Linked DNA regions of Homo sapiens: regions 2, 3 and 4 are each linked to region 1. Evidence: promoter capture Hi-C in human tissues and cell types (Jung and others, 2019). All regions are on one chromosome and are shown on one strand. The core of a region is centred on a gene start or on the middle of the fragment in contact, and the rest is flanking DNA. Distances in the headings are between cores, read along the strand shown.

Region 1 (4,976 bases), core at 843-3,342:
ACAGGGTTTTAGTCAATACACGTATCTCTCAAATAATGAATCTGAGCATTCTAAGCTCCTGGCCAAACACAATTCCTGTCTTTCTGCTTTTCTCCTTGTCCAGTGGTCCAGCCGTTTTGCTGCAAACATATCAATAGGAATCAGCTAGAGATGCTGTGATTCTCTTTAGTGTCTGGCGATGATGTTGCTAGGATAGAGAGGACAAACACTCATAGAGAGCAAGGTGGGATTTGTTTCTTCACATATTCCAAATATCCCTGTAGGTGCTATATTCAAAAAATGGCAAATGAGATTTCAGCTGAGATTGATTCTTGCCAGAGTCTCAGAATAACCACCTTATTGCTGATTTTATTCCCTTTGCAATGGAGGGCCTCTCTTCATTCTGCTTGCTATCATGTTCTAAGAATATCAAAGAGGCTACACAGGCAGCAATACTGAGTGGAGTCCTGTGCTTCCTGGGTGCACACAGCCTGCCAAGACAGACTCTCTGGGTCTGCAGGCTGATTTCATAAAGGGGATTATTCAGTCGACATTAAGTGGCAACAAACTCTAATTTTACTTTCTAAGCTACATCGTGGAGCTGTGCAGCTGGGCTGCGTATGTGCATATGCATTAGGAGGTGATTCCAAGGGACAGGGTTTCACTGAAGCCAGTGGAGGAGTAGTTTGCTCAGGTTCTGCTTTGCTGCAGGATCATTAGGGCCCTGGAAGTTTAAGTCTGACTCCTGGGACAGCACCCTGCTGAAAGTTTTATTCTGAATATTTGCAAAAGAAGTGAACTTCCAGTAGGGAGGTGGATGTTACAGTAATGCTATCTCATTGTGTAAAAACCAAATCATTTCAAGAACATACAGAGGATTAACAACAACAACAACAACAAAACCCAACAAAGCAACAACTAGAATCTTTTTGAAGTATTTTTTCTTCAGTGGAAAGGACCAGTTTGAGACCTGTGAATTATTGCAATGACTAAACATATCGTTAGACAGGTGTGAAATAACCTGACAACCCAGCATTCTGAGGCAAGAAGCAGGAAACTGTTCTTTTCCCAAATGTGCGGTTCATTTCTGTCCACAAGATCTTGTTGCGGAATAAGAAACAATACAGTATTAGCTTAATGAAGATCCTTCCTCAGTGTGGCCCTTGGATACTTTGAAGGTGAAACTCACCAAACTCTCTGTCCTTCATTTGTTCTAGGAGGTAATTTGTTGCAAATGGTGGCATCATCAACTACCCTCAAAGAAATATATTCCTCACTGATGTTTAATGAAAAGGATCATCAAAGAAAGTGTCGTCCTTCCTGCCTTATTCAATGTTGTTTCTCATCATATCAGTCACTGTCCTGGGGATTGTGAGCTTTCCGCATCTCTGGTGTTCCTAGCAAAAAACTCATAGCTCTAACCCCTACTAGAAACAGACATTTCAAGTACTGCTATAGGATTAATTAAAAGTGCTTTCACCTAAGGAAAGGGGGAAAGTAAAAATCATCCACTCATAAATGTTACTCACGATTCACACATTTCCAGCAGCATCAGAAAGAAAAACGTCACCTGTATTCCTAAGAAACTACAATCTAGGTCTCTGCACACTACAGCTTGTTGTTTTAGCACTTCAGACTTTTAAAAATCCTTTTTAGTAAAGAAAATAACACTCATTCACAATACTGGCTATGATACTTCAATTGACACTCTTAAGTTCCAGCAGTCTCATTGTTATAAGTCAGTGTTCAGAGTCGCAGGCAAGAAACTTACCTTAAAGGAGTAGTAGAAGGAACCCCATTCCTTTCCTTCCACCACTTCAGTAAAAGTCACTGTTTCAGTGCAAGCCACTGGGGAAGAATCCAGCGTCTGCCCGGTCCCACTGGAATCGAAGCTGCCCTCTGTGAAGTTGGCTGGCATGGCTCAGGCGGGGTTGAGCCTCACTGTCCTTGCTCCTGCAGCTGAGTGAGGGAGTCCAGCTTGCCTCCTGAGAGCTGGGCAGCAGCTGCAGCTCTGCTGAACGGAGGCACAGAGCCCTCCCTGAGCCCACCTCACTGAAGAGCTCTGCCTGATGACAGGGAGGATCTACGTGCTGCTCTCTCCTTGGCAATTACCACCAGGTAGCCAGCATAGCACAACCCTCATCACCCCACAGTCCCACCCAGGGCCAGGGCCCCACCCCAAGAGCAAGGTGGAGCTCCCCATAGCCATCGACATGGCTCCCTGGATGAGACCCCTGTTCTGTTTTGCTTTTCCTTACTTCCACGGTGGACCCCCACTTCTGCTCCAGCTTCAACAATAAAGGAATTTGGACTAATCAGTAGGTGCATGAATTCGGGTCATGTTTCCACTTCTGAAATCAAATTATAATTATGCATTTGTTTCAGCTGAGGTTGCTTTCTGACTTAAAGCCTCACCTTGCCATCTACTGTGTCATGTGCTCTTATTTCCGTAAGTGTAGGCAAATAGTACGTTTGTATTTCACACCCTTAGTTCTATCTAGGTGTTCACAGGGCGGTTCTCAGAGAAACATGAGGTCTGTGTTTGTCAATAAGCTACAACACCTTGTGATATGACTGGGAGGGGCCTGGTGAAGATTCTTACTGCTTTCAGTATATTCACCTCAGCTTCTACCTAGGACCAATACTCAGGGCGAGGGTAGAAAGGAGGTAATGCAGCATCCTGGGCACCACAGACAGGGCTAGGCGAGAATACTAACAGCTATTCCTGTTTCACAAAAAACCTGCAAAGCACATTTACACGTTCTTTCATTCAGTTTCCCAAACAACCTTGTGAGATAGGCAGGGAAGGTATCTTTATGTTCTCCTTTATGCTAGCAGAGAGTGGCTCCAATAGGTGAAATGACTTGCCCAAGATCCCGCAGCTGCTGATGTAAATGAGCTGATAACCCATCTCCAGAACTTCCTAGACAGTGGTGCTTTTACTGTAACAGACTGGTTTGCATCAAATCTCAAATGTCTATGGGGCATGAAGGTAACATGAATGAGGGTAGCAGGCCAGGTATAAAACAATGGGAACTAAGCTGCTTATATGACAACCAAGCACAATACCTGATTCCTCACATTGAGAACACTCTGTGAACCAACCAGGTCCAGCCACTGGTTTATGGCACCTGGAATAAGAGGTAGTAGCTTTAGTGGCCACCACTAAAGAACCTGGCCCCCATGAGATCTCCTGGGGAAGCTTTATTATAAACCATCGAGCCCCAAGGAGGGCACAGTGCTCTAGCAATGAGAAGGCATTGAGTCTATAATGAAGGGCAGCAAACAGAAGTGAGTTGTGTAGAAAACTGGATAAGCTGTGGACTCTTAAGGAAAGGTTCAAAACAGGACAACAACTCAATAGCAAAACAAGTGCAGCATATTCCAACTAACAAATGAGTATGAAGATAGGCTCAACCATATTAAAAATTAAGGAAAATAACTAAAACCAGTAAGAATGTTTACCTATTATTATAGTGAAAGCTAGCGTGTGGCTATCCCCAAGTGCTGACAAGATTGAAGGGAAACGGGTGTACATCTTTACTTCTGGTGAGAGTTAGTTGATGTGGTAATTTTTGAAAAGCAATTCAGCAGTATTTAGTAAAGCTGGAATTACATATCCTCTAATGCATTGTTCCATTTCTAGATGCTAATAATTTTTCATCTCTATCTGGGTTACTTACATATGCTCAATTCACATAAATTCTTTGCACTACATACTTAAAACATATGCACTTTTCTGTAGGTATGTTTTACTTCAAGAAAATGTTTATAAGACAAAATCTGTGAGGAACTCCTGGGAGAAGGTAGAAGCTGGTTAGGTCACAGTGTGGTAGGGGCAGAGTGAGAGAAAGTGGCAGATGCCATGGACAGAGAATAGGTGGGGAGAGAGAGCTTTCTGGTTGTTTCCTTTTCTCTCCATTCATGATCCAGATAGACCATTGTTTAACCTGTGGCCACCCAAGAGAAACATTTATGTATCTATACAAGCAGTCATGCAAAATGATGCCTTCGCAAAGTATTAAAGAAACGTATCAGAAGCAACCTAAATATTCATGATGTCAAAATCAATGAATCATCCCAAACTGGAAACCACCCAAATGTCCATCAACTGGATGAATAAATTTTCATGTAGTCACACAATGAAATACTATATAGCAATAAGAAAATGATCTGTAGCCAAAAATAACATAAATGGAACTTACAAACATAATATTAAGCAAAATAATAAATATGGTTGTTTCCTTTTTTTTTTTTTTTTTTTTTGAGATGGAGTCTTTTTCTGTTGCCCAGGCTGGAGTGCAATGGCACGATCTCGGCTTACTGCAAGTTCTGCCTCCTGGGTTCACGCCATTCTCCTGCCTCAACCTCCCAAGTAGCTGGGACTACAGGCGCCTGCCACCACGCCTGGCTAATTTTTTGTATTTTTAGTAGAGACAGGGTTTCACCATGTTAGCCAGGATGGTCTTGATCTCCTGACCTCGTGATCCACCTGCCTCGGCCTCCCAAAGTGCTGGGATTACAGGTGTGAGCCACTGTGCCCAGCCCTTTCATCTTTATAAAGTATAACTGTGCATGTATATAACACAATGGAATACTATACAGTAGTTAGAAGAAAGTTGAGTGGACAAGAAGACAAACTAACATGGTATAATGATTAACTGTATGTGTCAGTTTGACTGGGCCATGGAGTGCCCAAATAGTTAAACATTATTCTGGGTGTGTCTGTGAGGTGGCTCTGGATGAGATTAGCATTTGAATTGGCAGACTGAGTAAAGCAGATTGCCCTCCCTAATGTGAATGGCTCTCATCCATTCAATTAAAGGCCTGAATAGAATAAATAGGCTAATTCTTCTGTGAAAAGCGGGGAACTCCTCTTGCCTGACTTCTTTGAGCTGGGACATTGTTTTTTTTCTGGCTTTTGGGCTTGAACTGAAACATCAGTTCTTCCTGGGTCTCAAGCCTGCCAGCTTTCAGACTGGAACTACACCATTGGC
Region 2 (4,976 bases), core at 1,554-4,053, 100 kb after region 1:
GAGTAATATTTCATTGTATGACCATACAACAAGCTGTTTGCTGAATATGTATTGACAGATATTTGGATTGTTTCCAGTTCCAGAGTATTGTAAATTAAAACTGCTATGAACACTCTTGTAAAAGACTTTCACAAATGTTTTTATTTATTTGAAGTAAATACCTAGGAGTGAAATTGCTGTCATAAGGTAGGTATAGGATTAACTTTGTTAGAAGTTTCCAAATAATTTTGTAAAATTATTACTATTTTACATTCCCACCAGCAATATGTGAGATTTCTAGTACCTCCATCCTTATCTTTGCCAACGTAGGATTGTTGGTGTTTTAACTGTAGTCATTGTAGTAGGCATATAGTCCTATCCATTACAGTTTTAATTTGCATTTCCATGATGATATAAATTTTGAGCATCATTCTATGAGTTTACATACATCTTCATTTGTGAACTATCTGTTTAAATATTTTGCCCATTAAAAAACATTACATGTATGGTGTTTATGTACATGTTTTGATAAATTTTAAATTTTATAATAGATTTGCATATACTTTATGGTAGTAAATGACAAAATACAGTAGCATCTACACATATTTTATGCATTCATGACATACCTAACTTTTTGTTAATTTTTTGGATGTTTCTAGGCTTTATAGTTTGTCAGTTTTTCAAATTGTTACGAACCTCAAATATGTTTATTGAATAAAACACCCAAATATAGGTGGTCCTGCACAGTTCAAACCAATGTTATACAAGGATCAACTGTGCTAGATGTAGCTTTATCTACTTGACCCTATCTGCTACCCCTCCTGTATTCAGTTTCTTTCTTCCCAAAATTTGTTAGTATTTCTTTCCTCAGATGATGACTCTCAATTCCACGCCTTTATTCAATACCAATTCATAATTTTAAATTTCTTTGCTTTTATTTAAATGTGGTCTTTGAAGGAGTTGGCAAATTGCATTTTCCAGGAGGATCACAACAATATCTTCTAGCCTGCATGCTCTTCTACAGTGTTAATTTGTCATTCTCCCATTAAGAGCTGGCATCTAGAGCTTGCAATTGTCTCAAGAGGTGGACTGGATTTAGTGATTTACTTGTAACCAAAATAATTTGGCAGGGGAGAAACGGTGAAATCTTCAAGTCTAGTTCAGAAGAAGTAATGCCACTTTTGCTTTGACTTCTTGAAGTGCCCACTCTCTGAATGTCCCCTCTCAGGATTGTCTCTCTCAGAATCTATTCACCATGCAGTGAGAAGCTGCATAGAGAGGCTGTATGGAGGTTCCCACTCAGCCTAGTCTTCAAGTTACCTCAGCCTCAGTCTCGTAGTAGACACATTAAGGAGGAAGTCCTCCAATAATTACAACCTCCAGCCATTTTACTATTTAACAGCAGTTCTTCGCTGCTAGCTCCAAGTATATTGTGGATCAGAAAAAAATTACCCCTTGCTGCTCCTGTCTAAATTTCTGACTCATAGAATCCAGAATATACTTCAATAAAAGTATAATTGTTAAATGTCATTTCTTTTGGCATAGCAACCTCTATATTTTGTTTATTTTTAAACTTTTAGGTTCAGAAGTTACATGTGCAGTTTTGTTATATAGGTAAACCCATGTCATGGGGGTTTGATGTACAGATTATTTCCTCAACCAGATACTGAGCCTAGTAGCCGATAGTTACTTTTTCTGCTCCTCTCCCTCTTCCCAACCTCCACCTTCTGATAGGCCCCAGTGTCTGTTGTTCGCCTTTTTGTGTCCATGTGTTCTCATCATTTAGCTCCCACTTATGAGTGAGAGCATGTGGTATTTGTTTTTCTGTTCCTGCATTAGTTTGCTAAGGATAATGGCCTCCACTTCCATCCAGGTTTCTGCAAAAAATATGATCTCATTATTTTTTTTATGGCTGCATGGCATCCCATGCTATATATTTACCACATTTTCTTTATCCAGTCTTCCGCTGATGGGCAATTAGGTTGATTCCATGTCTTTGCTATTGTGAATAGTGCTGCTATGAGTATACACGTAGACGTGTCTTTATGACAGAATGACTTACATTCCTTTAAGTATATACCCAGTAATGGAATTGCTGAATCAAATGGTAGTTCTATTTTTAGCTCTTTGAGGAATTGCTACACTGATTTCCACAATACTTGAACTAATTTACAGTCCCCCACCAACAGCATATAAGCGTTCCCTTTTCTCTGCAACCTCACCAGCATCTGTTATTTTTTGACTTGTTAATAATAGCCATTCTGATTAGTGTGAGGTGATATCTCACTGTGGTTTTGAATTGCATTTCTCTAATGATCAGTGATGTTGAGCTTTCATTCATATGCTCGTTAGTTGCATGTATGTCTTCTTTTGAAAAGTGTCTGTTTCTGTCCTTTGCCCACTTTTTAATGAGGTTGTTTTTATCTTATAAATTTGTTTAAGCCCCTCACAGATGTTAGATATTAGACCTTTGTCAGATGCATAGTTTGCAAATATTTTCTCCCATTCTGTAGATTGTCTCTTTGTTGATAGATTCTTTTGCTGTTCAGAAGCTCTTCAGTTTAATTAGATCCTGTTTGTCAATTTTTGCTTTTGTGTGATTGCTTGGAATCTTTGTCATGAAAGCTTTGCCAGTTCCTATGTCCATAATGGTATTGCATAGGCTGTCTTCTAGGGTTTTTATTGCTTTTGGTTTTTCGTGTCAGTTCTCTTGAGTTGATTTTTATATATGGTGTAAGGAAGGGGTTCAGTTTTAATTTTCTGCATATGGCTAGCCAGTTATCCTAACCCGATTTATTGAATAGGGAGTCCTTTCCCCATTGCTTGTTTTTGTCAGCTTTGCCAAAGATCAGATGGTTGTATATGTACAGCCTTATTTCTGAGCTCTCTACTCTGTTCTGTTGGTCTATGTGTTTGTTGTTATACCACTGCCATTCTGTTTTGATTACTGTAGCCTTGTAATATAGTTTGAAGTTGGGTAGTGGGATGACTCTTTCTTTGTTCTTTTTGCTTAGAATTACCTTGGGTATTCAGGCTCTTTTTTGTTTTCATATGAATCTTAAAATAGGTTTTTCTAGTTCTATGAAGGGTGTCATTAGTAGTTTGATAGGAATAGCATTGAATCTGTAAATTGCTTTGGGCAGTATGAACATTTTAATGATATTGATTCTTCCTCTCCAAGAGCATGGGATGCTTTTCCACTTGGTTGTGTTATCTCTGAGTTCTTTGATCAGCGTCTGTAATTTTGATTGCAGAGATCTTTCACCTCCTGATTAGCTTTATTCCTAAGCATTTTATTCTTTTTGTGGCAATTGTGGATGGAATTGAGTTCCTGATTTGCTCTTGGCCTGGCTAGTGTTAATGTATAGGAATGCTAGTGATATTTGTACATTTATTTTGTATCACAAAACTTTGCTGAAGTTATTTATCAGCTTAAGGATTTTTTGGTCCAAGACTATGGGGTTTTCTAGATATAGAATCATGTCATCTGCAAACAAGAATATTTTGACTTCTTTTCTTCTTATTTGGTTCCCCTTTCTTTCTTTCTTTTGCCTGATTGCTCTGACCAGGATTTCCAATACTATGTTCAATAGGACTGGTAAGAGAGAGCGTCCTTTTCTTGTGCTGGTTTTCAAGGGGAATGCTTCCAGCTTTTGTCCATTCAATATGATGTTGACTGTGGGTTTGTCACAGATGGCTCTCATTATTTTGAGGTATGCTCTTTTAATACCTAGTTTGTAGAGACACTTAACATTAGGGGATGTTGAATTGTATTGAAAGCCTTTTCTGCATCTATCGAGATGATCGTGCAGTTTTTGCCTTTAGTTCTGTTTATATGATGAAACACATTTATTTATTTGCATATGTTGAACGAATCTTTCATCCCAGGGGTAAAGCCTACTTGATCGTGGTGGATTAACTTTTTGATATGTTTCTGGATTTTGTTTGTTAGTTTTTGTTGAAGATTTTTGCATCAATGTTCATCAAGGATATTGGCCTGAAGTTTCCTTTTTTTGTTGTGTCTGTGACAGGTTTTGTTCACAGTATGATGCTGTCCTCATAGAATGAGTTGGGTAGGAGTCCCTCCTACTCAATTTTTTTTGAATCGTTTTAGTAGGAATGATGCCATCACTTCTTTGTACGTCTGGTGCAATTCAGCTATGAATCCATCTGTTCCTGAGCTTTTTTCGTTGATAGGCTATTTATTACTAATTCAATTTCAGAGCTCATGATTGGTCTGTTCAGAAATTCAGTTTGTTCCTGGTTCAGTCTTGTGAGGCTGTATGTGTCTAGGAAGTTATCCATTTGTTCTAGATTTTCTAGTTGGTGTGCCTAGAGGTGTTTATAATAGTCTGGTAGTTATTTGTATTTCTGTAGGGTCAGTGGTAACAACTCCTTTGTCATTCCTAATTATGCACATTTGGATCTTCTCTCTTTTCTTCTTTACTAGTTTAGTTAGTGGTCTGTCTATCTTTCAAATGTTTTTTGAAAAACCAGCTCCTGGATTTGTTGATTTTCGGAATGGTTTTCCATGTCTCAATCTCCTTTAGTTCAACTCTGATTTTGATTATTCGTTTTCTTCTACTCACTTTGGGGTTGGTTTGCTCTTGCTTCTTTAGTTCTTCTAGTTGTTATGTGAGATCTTTCTAACTTTTTTATGTGGGCATTTAGTTCTAAAAATGTCCCTAATAATACAGCCATAGCTGTGTCCCAGAGATTCTGCTATGTTTTATCTTTGTTCTTATTAGTTTCAAAGAACTTCTTGATTTACACCTTAATTTCATTATTTACCCAAAAGTAATTCAGCAGCATGTTGTTTAATCTCCATGCAAATTTATGTGTGTGTGATTTTCTTCATTTTGAATTCTATTTTATTTCACTGTGGTCTGAGAGTCTGGATGGTATAATTTCAGTTTTTAAAAATTTGCTGGAGATTATTTTATGTCTGAGTGTATGGTTAATTTTATAGTATGTGCCATGTGCAGTTGAGAAGAATG
Region 3 (4,976 bases), core at 1,117-3,616, 100 kb before region 1:
ACATTGAAATTTCTGATAATATAAGGTCCTTTTATCCTTAATTGTGGTGTTGCAGATGACCTCTGGCTTTCCTGAAGGGACACTGTGGGTAACAATATCAACTGTGTATCTCAGAGTATGCAATGCTTCCAGCTCAACTCAATGTCTTTAGTGTTGTTTTTAAAGCGAGTGTGTATATATAATAATAGCTTGCTTGCTTTTGGTTGCACAAAAAACTATTTTTGATATTGATAAAGGTCCCTCTTCTACTTTTCTTTTTTAAACACTGAATGCTGAGAACACTGTAAATGGCACAAGTCTTGAAGAACTTGTGTGAAACTTTGTTTAATGATAAAACTGAATGGCCCAACCTGATGTCAGGTACTTAGCCAATTAAAATTATTTCTCCAAAAGTATATGTCTATGTTTTGGGCTCATTTTACAATATTAATATGATTCTGGCACTGTGTCCTTCGCCAAGATGAAGTACCAGCTAAGCCTAATGGTCTAAACTGTCAACTCCCCGGCTCTTTATTAATCCTGGGGAAGTGGCTCACACCTCAGTCATTACTGCTCAATTAGGTAAATAATCATCACATTTATTCTCATTAGAGCACTCTCTTCACAGAAAGCTTTGGTCCTAAGATTTTCAATTAGTCTTAACAAGTTACAAATGCCGCTAGTGTCTCCCTTTCTCCATTAGTTCCCCCAACCAAATAAAAAGCTTGTGTCTAATTAAGGAAACCCAAGTCCTCGTAAAACTTACTCTCTTTGCCTCTGTTGTATTCAGAAACCAAGAAGCTCATTAAATGAGGCAACTGGCCTACCTGAGTTGTTGGTTATTGCTGGGCCACAAAAAACTCCTGTGCTCATAAGCACAAGCATCAGGTTCAGCAATAACAGGTGTTTTCTTAAAACAAGACATTGAGCCTCCACTATTTCTCCTCCTCACTCCACTTAAGGGGAAATTTCTTGAGGCATGGTAGCATGTAATTATCATTGCACAAGATCATTGCACAACATGGGGCTCAAACTGACTCTGAATATAAGACATAGACAACTTGTTTTCTCTTTTAAAGGATGCTATTTTCCTAATAAAAAGAATTCACAGAAATGATCTGGGATGTTTAGAAATCCAAGAGAAGGAGAGGAGAGTTCCATTTTCACTTATCCAAGAGGCAGGCTCTTCAAATGTCTTTTTCCCTTTGCCCAAGGAGAGCTAAGGGGTAGCAGGCTGAGATGGAAGTGGTAAATTGTAACAAAAAAATATTTGTTTCTCATCTCATTCTGCTGCAATCAGGTACACGCTTGTACATAGGGAAATGAGGCAGACATAGAGATATGCTGCTCAGATCCCCCTTCAAGAAAGACCTTGCTGTCCAGCTGTGAGGTATATGGTTTGCTGACATCCTCCAGCTGTTAGATTCCTCAGGGTTTGCCTCAGCTTTTTAGCTGGGATCATGCTATTCTTGGTACAACCTCTACCAATGACTAAGTTATAGTAGAAGAGTCTAATCATTTATACCCAACATGGAAATCCTAAAGGATTCCTGAGCTGCCAGAGACTGTCAGGTTAATGTCAGGCTCTGATGGGTCCTCCAGCCCAATCTTACTTCTTCCCTTTGCTTTCACAGGAGTGACTTCTCCCCAGATTTTTGTATACCTGACTCTGTTTCAGCATCCGCTTCCCAAAGAATGCAGTGTGAAGCAGGAGGTAAGGGAGGAAGGGGCCCAAGATCATTTCATTTTCTAGGGGTGGTCTTTGTGGTTGCCTCTGTTGCATAATGTAAGATCTTAGCAAAAATCCCATTTATTCAAAACTAAAGCCAGTGAGAAAGCTACTAGGATGCTAGAAATTACTACGTGATGATGACTGCTATGCTGAGTCTGTCTGTCAAGTAGCCTACATGCCTATGTTTAGGCATCACACTGGCTCCTCTTAGAGGTCTAAGAATCACTGATTCTTTGTAGAGATGTTATTGAGGACATTTTAGTGCTGTTTCATCAAAGTACTGAATATAAAGCTCCGTAGTATCAGTTTTCTTGATCAAGAAACATCTTGCTGTGCATTTCCCTCAAGATTACAACAAATTATATTTAGTCAGTTTTGCCCTTAGTTTTAGCCACTAACTAGGAAGCACAAAATAAAATATGATGGGTTGCAGTAACTTTGCAGTAACTCTAAGCTTAAATTTGACTTTTTTCCTCTGCAGTTATGATTTGATATTTTCCATGCCCTTTCTATTTCATTTCTTATTTTTCATTGTGTTGGGTATGTTCTTACATGCATGGGCAGTACACAGCATGGCTACTGGAGCCCGACTGTGGGATTTTGAATGTTGGCTCTGCTACATGACAGCTGTGCTATCTTGGGCTTGCTACTGACCACACGGAATCCAGGGCTCTTTGTAAAATTGTAATAAGAATGCCTGATTTATAGGGCTACTGTGAAGGTTAAATGAGATAGTTTATGTAAAATGTTTAGTAAAATGCTTGCCCTATAAAACCTGGGTAGCTGTTGTTGGTGCTGATGCAATGAATAGGGCCAATAACTAGACAGAGAGCTGCAAGAACTGGGGATGAGATGGTGTGTCTTAACATAAGTCCTAGACTCCTTGCCAACTTGCTAGAATAATGTTTTCTGCAAAAATTGACACATAAGAAGTAGAGGCTTTCTTTAAACTAGATCTAAAATGAAGACTGGCTATTTTATTTGCTATAATGCATGCCAGCTAATCCAATATATTTGATTAACACACTTGATCAGTCTAATATATTAGATTCTCACTATGGAAACAGTGGTGATTAAATTAACTGATGGCGGATAAGGTGAAAAGAACTAAGCCAATCCTTGAGAGACTAGAACACAAGATAGATTAGTTCAGGGATTGGGCCACTATTTATTAACAGGATTGCTACTTATGGGGCAATTCTGTGTTAGGATAGATGGTCCTGTGCAGGAAATTTGGCATGCCTGGGCTGTGCTTACTAAATGCCAGAAGTAACCCCTGCTGCCCCAGTCTTTGTGATAACTCCAAATATCCCACCATTTCCAAATGCCCCAGGACTGCTTCCTGTGAAGAACTATTGAGGTGTGGAAGGACATCTAGTGGTAGATTGGGAATATGACCCAGCATTTCTAGGTCAGTTTCAGTTTATACCCGCCATGATTATGCCTGTGGCCCTTTCTCTTAAATATGCCATGGTTTTACTTGGCTCATTGGAGATGGCTGATTCCTGGCCTGGGGCTGGGAAAAGGACAAGATAAGCCTGGAACATCATGTTGTGCTGGCAAGTGAGGACATGCCCAAAAATGCTGAGAAACATGTCAACAGAAACACGCACCAAATTGTAGGGCTCTTGCTGACCCCAGTCAGCAATCTAGGCATAAAAAGAAATAACTATGGCAACAAATTATAACCCACAGAATAAAAGAAGAACCTATGATGTAAATTTAAAAATGGGAGAGAAGGGAAATTTCTTCCTTAAAGTAGAGAGACTGCTAATAAGTATAGAAGAAATAATGAAATTAGAAAATCATCATTTGGAAACCTTTATAGCATTGATTCAGACAGGAATCTACACTGTATGGTAAGTGCTGTGAGTGAAAGTTTAAGGAGTATCAGGATGGCTATGTACTCTTAAAATACTTGTCAGTTGCAAAAGGAAAAATAGTATCTTTACAGTGGAGAAATCTGACAATAACATCACTAGTAATGGGACAAATTGATATACTGTGTCTGCTGATACTATATACTAAGAGGAACATAGCATCATTCCTGGTGTATAACTCTCAAAAGCACATAACCTTAATCTATTCAGAAGGAAACATCACACAAACCCAAAGTGAGAGAAACTCCACAAAATATCTAACCTATGCTATTTAAAAATGTTGATGTCATAAGATACAAAGAAAGACCAAGGAACTGTTCTAAGTTAAAGAACACTAAACGTACATGGCAACTGAATACAATACATGATTCGGGGTTTTTTGTGCTAAAAAGGATGTTCTTGGGATAATTGGTGACATTTAAAGCAGGTTTGCTGATTACCTGGGACATTTTTAGATGGATGGATAGGTAGATAGGTAGGTATTATAGATAGACTGATAGAGGAAATGATAAAGCAAATATGAAAAATATTAACATTTCAGGAATATGTGTACAGGGTACATGGGGGTATTTGTACTACTCTTGAAGATTTTCTGTAAACCTGAAATTATGTCAAAACAAGAAGCTAAAAATGAAAAATGTCCTGGTTGGGAAGACACATATGGTTGCTCAACCCATAGGGGAAGAGCTGGCAGAATATGATGGCTGTGACCTCTGCACGGTACTGAAGATATGGGCAACATGTTGAGCAAGGGCTGCTGTTATATTGAGAAGTGAGCTTTAGAATTGTTCAGCAAGTTTCTTCTTGTTCAGACCAGTATAGGCTTTCCTGGTAAGCTACTGTGCAATGTATTTGTTAATTATTAGCTCAGAGAGAGATTCAGCAAGTGGGCTTACATCTGTTCCCATGAAACACCATGAACTTCACACTCTCTGGGGAGGTCTAGGACTCAGAAATATAGATGTTAGTAAGAGCAAACAGACATAACAGATAACACATACAAAGTGCCTACCACATGCTAACCACTGCTGCAGGCACTTTCTATAGAAGAACTAATTTAATCATCACCATAACCCTATGGGGTAGATGATATTTTTACAACCTCCATTTTACAGATGAAGAAACTGAAGCATAGACCTGGTGAGTAACTCACCCAAGTATTAGTATGGAGGGGAGCTGGGATTGAAACACCAGTTATGGTCATTCCAGAGGATGAATGCTCTCTTCACCACTCTCCTCTTCTGCTTCCTGAGGGGCTCTGAGCAATGAAACTCTTCTTTCCAGATTGTGCTTATAAAGCAAACGAGGTGTCCAGGATTAGACCTCTAGAAGAGTCTGAGCTGTTGTACCCCATACTGGGGCAAAGTAAGTTGTTTGTGCTGAGT
Region 4 (4,976 bases), core at 1,741-4,240, 68 kb after region 1:
AGAGAACAATGTAGACTGCTGTACATTTCTAAACCCAGGGAGATCTTAGCCTATTCAAGAACCATTTCATAGGAAATTATGGCAATTCAATAAGAACCATACGGCGTAGCTTTCTCAAGTACATCAGAGCCTCATTATATAACCATAACCCTAATTTGAGATATGAAGGATAAATATAAGAAAACATGAAGGATGTTTACCAGTTCAGTTACTCCTGTTCCCCTGCTTGGTTTTTCATGTTGCATAAGTCCTATCCATGCCCAGGGCTTCTTGAGTATTCTCAAGTCTTATTCTCTAAGGGAGAACTTCTCTATGGAAGGAACTTTTTTCCCTTCTGTCTTATCCTGTTTTGTGCTGCCGTAAATACCATAGAATACCATAGTTGGGATAATTTATAATGAAGAGAAATTTATTGGCTCACAGTTCTGTAGGTTTGGAAGTCCACTATCAAGGTATCAGCATCTTGTGAGGGTTTCCTTGCTGTATCATTCCATGGTGAAAGGGCAGAGAGAGGGCAAGAAAGACAGAGAGCAAGAGGAAGTGAACTCACTCTATGTATTAGTCCATTCTCACACTGCTAAAAAGATACTACCTGAGACTGGGTAATTTATAAAGGAAAGAGGTTTCAACTGAGCAATTTTCAACTGAGCAATTACTATGCAGTGTGACGAGCATTGCCCCAGCTGAAAGAGTGGGCACCATGGGGCATGTGGAAGAAGTGAATAGCCTAGAGGAGAGGGTAGGAGGCTCTCCCAGAGAAAGGGAAATTTAGGTCAAGAAAAGAAGGCTGGCAGGTAAAGGAGCCTCCGGGGAGGCAGGGGACCATTCTGGGCGTAGGACTGGCATGTGCAAAGGCCTGCAGCTAAGGCAGTACGTGATGTGCAAGGATGGGCTGGCCAGAGGAGTTGAGGGGTAGATCCCTCATGACTAAATGCCTCTTAAAGGTGTCGCCTCGCAATATAGTTACAATGGCAATTAAATTTCAATATGAGTTTAGGAGGGGACAAATGTTCAAACCATAGCACCTTCTATATGTCCCACTGCAGAGAATGCTGGAAATATCCCTTTATTGTTCTCTAGACCTTTATTGTTCCCTAGACCTTTCCCAGGAAAGAGAATGCCCAAGGGTTGCCTCTTGGTCAAGTGGTTTCAGAGAGGTTGAAGCTAGTTACTCTATGCACTAAACATTCCAGGTCGTGGAATCCTGCCACTTTTCTAAATCATCATTTTCTGACAATGTCAATACTCCTCGCTGTGAACCTCTCAAAGGGTATAAAACTTGGAAAAAGAGTAGAGGTGGTTGACAGAAACCACATCATGGAAGGCACAGTCACCTACTGATTTCCAGTAGGAGGACAACCCTAGTCCCATTAATTTTTTTGTTTTTTTGGGAGATAGATATTCTTTGTCAAATTAAGTTCCCTTCTATCCCTATTTGCTAAGAGATTTTATCATAATTTGGTTTTAGCCTCATTAATTTTTTTTTGCATTTATTGAAATAATTATTTCTTTAATTTTTTTCTGTTAATGTATAGAATTACATTGATTTTCAAATATTAAACTGATATGGTTTGGATTTGTGTCCCCACCCAAATCTCATCTCAACTTGTAATTTGATAGTATAATCCCCACATGTCTGGGGAGAGGCCTGGTGGGAGGTGATTGGATCATGGGGGTGGTTTCCCCCATGCTGTTCTGCCACTGTCAGATGCAATGTTCTATACATGCCAGTTAGGTCAATTTTTAAAAATTTGTCTCTCTGATCTTGTATATTCTTACTCATTTCTTATTTTTAATTCTATTTGCTTCTTATATTGTTTTTCATATTTAAAAATTCCCAAATCATTTTTAGAAAGTAAGTAGTGAGGATTAAATCTACCAGAGAATATGCCCTAATACCAGGACATTGTCATAAAGGAAAAAAAATAGGTGGGCTACTGGTTCAGGTACAAGCAGGTAAATATAATTCCATGGACAGTCAGAAACTGAGCCATGTATTTGGGGGAACTTAATGTAAGATGGTACCATGTCAATGAGGGAGAAGATATATTATTAATAGAAGCTCATGTGTAAAGAGCTATATATCATTCAAAATACAAGAATTAATTCCAGTGAATTATAAATATTAAAAGTCAAAATAAAGATAACAGGAAAAAAGTAGAGGAGGTTATCTTTCTGACTTCAGGTCAGACAGATATTCTTAAAGAGGACCTTAGAAATATAACTCACAATGTGAAAAATTAAGATTTTATTACATCAAAAATGGAGATTTCTATCAAATGAAAACACCATAGACAAAATTAATAGACAGACAATGGATTGGAGGAAGATACTTGTCAAAACTAAGACTGACAAGAGATTAGAATTTAGAATATTTGAGATTTCTTCCAAATCATTCGGGAAAAATCAAAACACCAAAAGGAAAAGTAGACAAATGTGTATACTCAAATCTCAGAAGTGAAAAATTAAATGGCTCTTAAGTATATGAAGTGACAGTCAAACTTACTAATTAATAAGATGTGAATTATGACAGTGGTGAACCACTACATTATACTCATTACATTAACAAAAGTTAATGACAAGTATTGGAAAGAATGAAAGGAAATTAACCACATGGACAAGTAGATGATAATGAAAAATGGTACAGACAATGTGGAAAGCAATTCAAAAGTACTTTGGGAAGACAAGAATATATATTCTTATATATTATCCTGTGTCCCAGCTAAAGTTTTGCAGAGGTCCATAATGGAAAGCTCATGGGGGATGATGTTCATTGCCTTATTCCTTGTGATAAAAAAATCCTAAATAATGTATAATCATAATGTGATATATGATTACTTGGGAAGGAGGAAAAAGGGAATGAAGATTGGGGATTTTAAGGAAAGAAACATGGAACAAGAATCAGTCCTGTGGAAAATAAACAAGACATGGTCCTTCCATGTGTGGATGATGGCAGTTAATGTTTCATGAGTGGAGAAGTGCGATAACTTCAACTCTTCATTTTGCAGTTCCAAAACAAAACAGACAAAACCACCCCAAAACACCCTTTGACATATATCTTTGCAGACCAGCCTTGTACATGTTAGGGAAAGCTTCACCAAATTGGTATGTTAGATTAAAAAAAAATGCATTTTAAATTTTCATACATTTTGCCAGGCAACTTCTTTATTCGCTGTTTCAAAATTTTTTCTTACATAGTCTTATTAATTTATACCTTAGGTTGAATTTAGAGTGAACTAATCAGGTTCTAAAAGAAACCCATGGGGATTTATGTTCGAATTGCATTCTAATAGGGAATCGCAACTTAGCATTACATTAAATTAATAGCTTAATTTATGGGTAATTGACCTACTTTCAATCTGAGGAAATATAAGCATAAAACTAAGAAGAAATTATAAGTGAAAACATTAAAATGTTAATGATGATTTTTCTTGGATAATGGGACTACATGTACTTTTTTCCTCTGTCCACTTTTCTGGGTATCCAAATTTTCTTTAATATGCACACTCTACTTTTAAGTGAAAGCATTTATTTAAAAACTGAACCATACACTAATAGAGCTGAGAGGGATGGTTATTTTCAAAACTAGTTTTTTTCCTTTTTAATGAGAAGAGAGATTCAGGAGCCACATTTTAAATGTTAGAAATTATTCATCAAAGTTGCATTTAATGATTACAGAAATAAAAAAAATTGATATCATAGTTTCAGTTGAGTAAAACTACTTTCCTTGTTCATGAAGTAATGTTTTAAAACCAAATGGGTCTCATTATGTGGTGTGGTCCCTGAGGACAATGTTATCAAGGTTCTCTAATGAAGCATGGAGCAACCGTTTCTGTTTTTGGTTCTAACATATTTAATGCTCAGAAATAGCTAGAAGGCAAGAGGAGTAGATTCCAACTGGGAGACATCAGCTCATCCTGTCAGGGCGATGAACCGCAGAGTGCAGTACTTTTCCAAAAGTGAAGAAGAATAAACTTTGGGGTTGTACTCTTTCCTAGCAACAAATACAGCAGTATATCAAAAGTCCACTTTGTAAGTTCTTTCTGAACAATTGGGAATATCTACTGAAGTCTGTGACTACCTAGAAACTGAAGATGAGGCAGCTGCACATCTGTACATTTCAACTCCATCCTAATTCTATTAATTTTGAAGGGGTGGTAATAAAGAAGGAGAAAACTGGGAGTTGGCAAGGGGCACGAGAGACACAGAAAGTGAAAAAGCATGTAGATGTGTTGTAGCAAGGAGCCAAGTCAAGGAACTCTGGGCGTAGCACTGCTGCATGGGGTCTGAGAGGCTGGAGGGAGGTAAGTCAGCTGTATGAGTGGTTTCTCCCACTACTTGATCCAGAGTGTTCTGCAGGAAGCAACAGAAGAAGCTTCCATTACAGGTGAAGTTCCATTACAGGTAACTTCCATTACAGGTGAAGTTAAGGGCTCTATCATAAGCCCTTTACCTGAGATGAGCAGAATATGAAATTAGAAGGCATAAATATTGGACTTTAACAAGCAAAAGTGTTAATTTTTGGACTTTAATTTCCCTCTGAAATTTGATTAGGGGAGCAGTTTTAGTAATCAAATTCAAGATATCTATCTATTTGGCATTTTATTCATTCATTTTTATTCAAAACCTCTGATATGCTCTCTGGATGTAATTTGGCATGAGAAATAAAATAGAGGACAAATTTTCAGCCTTGGGAACCAAATGACCCTGGGGTTGTCCTAATTAATTAGCTGTTCTGACCAATTGCTGAATGTGGTGGAGGCAAATTACAATTGGCCATCAGCACCCTCATGAGGATACATAGAGACGCAGAGGTCAGTGCTGGAGATGGGCTTAGTGAAGGTGAAGCAGGTCTGTCCTGTAGACCTGGGCCACTCTTCTCCCATGAGGGAGCAGCCGTATTCATCGGTGACAAAAAGCTTAATGGTCAAGCTCAATAGACTAAGATAAAAATGAGCTTGGCAGTGGAAGGGTAG

Evidence for each region. Contacts are between HindIII fragments. The study calls those that stand out against the background at their distance.
Region 2: a fragment that was not itself captured here is called in contact with the fragment with the promoter of NPSR1 in region 1 in 2 of the 25 tissues and cell types used here (adrenal gland and ovary).
Region 3: a contact is called between a fragment that was not itself captured here and the fragment with the promoter of NPSR1 in region 1, in 2 of the 25 tissues and cell types used here (H1 embryonic stem cells and small bowel).
Region 4: a contact is called between a fragment that was not itself captured here and the fragment with the promoter of NPSR1 in region 1, in 3 of the 25 tissues and cell types used here (H1 embryonic stem cells, adrenal gland and small bowel).

What each region holds. Positions count from the first base shown.
Region 1 is chr7:34,655,334-34,660,309 of GRCh38, reverse strand. NPSR1 (neuropeptide S receptor 1) reads right to left here and starts at 2,092. Exons shown (of 9, transcript NM_207172.2): 1 at 1,751-2,092. The coding sequence starts at 1,897. All of the region lies in intron 2 of NPSR1-AS1 (NPSR1 antisense RNA 1), which reads left to right. RefSeq lists enhancers at 1-53, 4,714-4,976. The HindIII fragment of the contact is 11,658 bases long and covers 1-4,486 here.
Region 2 is chr7:34,555,246-34,560,221 of GRCh38, reverse strand. All of the region lies in intron 2 of NPSR1-AS1 (NPSR1 antisense RNA 1), which reads left to right. Among named protein-coding and RNA genes, the nearest start is that of NPSR1, 100 kb to the left of the region's middle. The HindIII fragment of the contact is 8,266 bases long and covers 1-4,976 here.
Region 3 is chr7:34,757,829-34,762,804 of GRCh38, reverse strand. All of the region lies in intron 2 of NPSR1 (neuropeptide S receptor 1), which reads right to left. NPSR1-AS1 (NPSR1 antisense RNA 1) reads left to right here and starts at 4,533. Exons shown (of 4, transcript NR_033665.1): 1 at 4,533-4,731. The HindIII fragment of the contact is 3,418 bases long and covers 658-4,075 here.
Region 4 is chr7:34,588,078-34,593,053 of GRCh38, reverse strand. The region is part of intron 2 of NPSR1-AS1 (NPSR1 antisense RNA 1); the gene reads left to right. Among named protein-coding and RNA genes, the nearest start is that of NPSR1, 68 kb to the left of the region's middle. The HindIII fragment of the contact is 5,620 bases long and covers 181-4,976 here.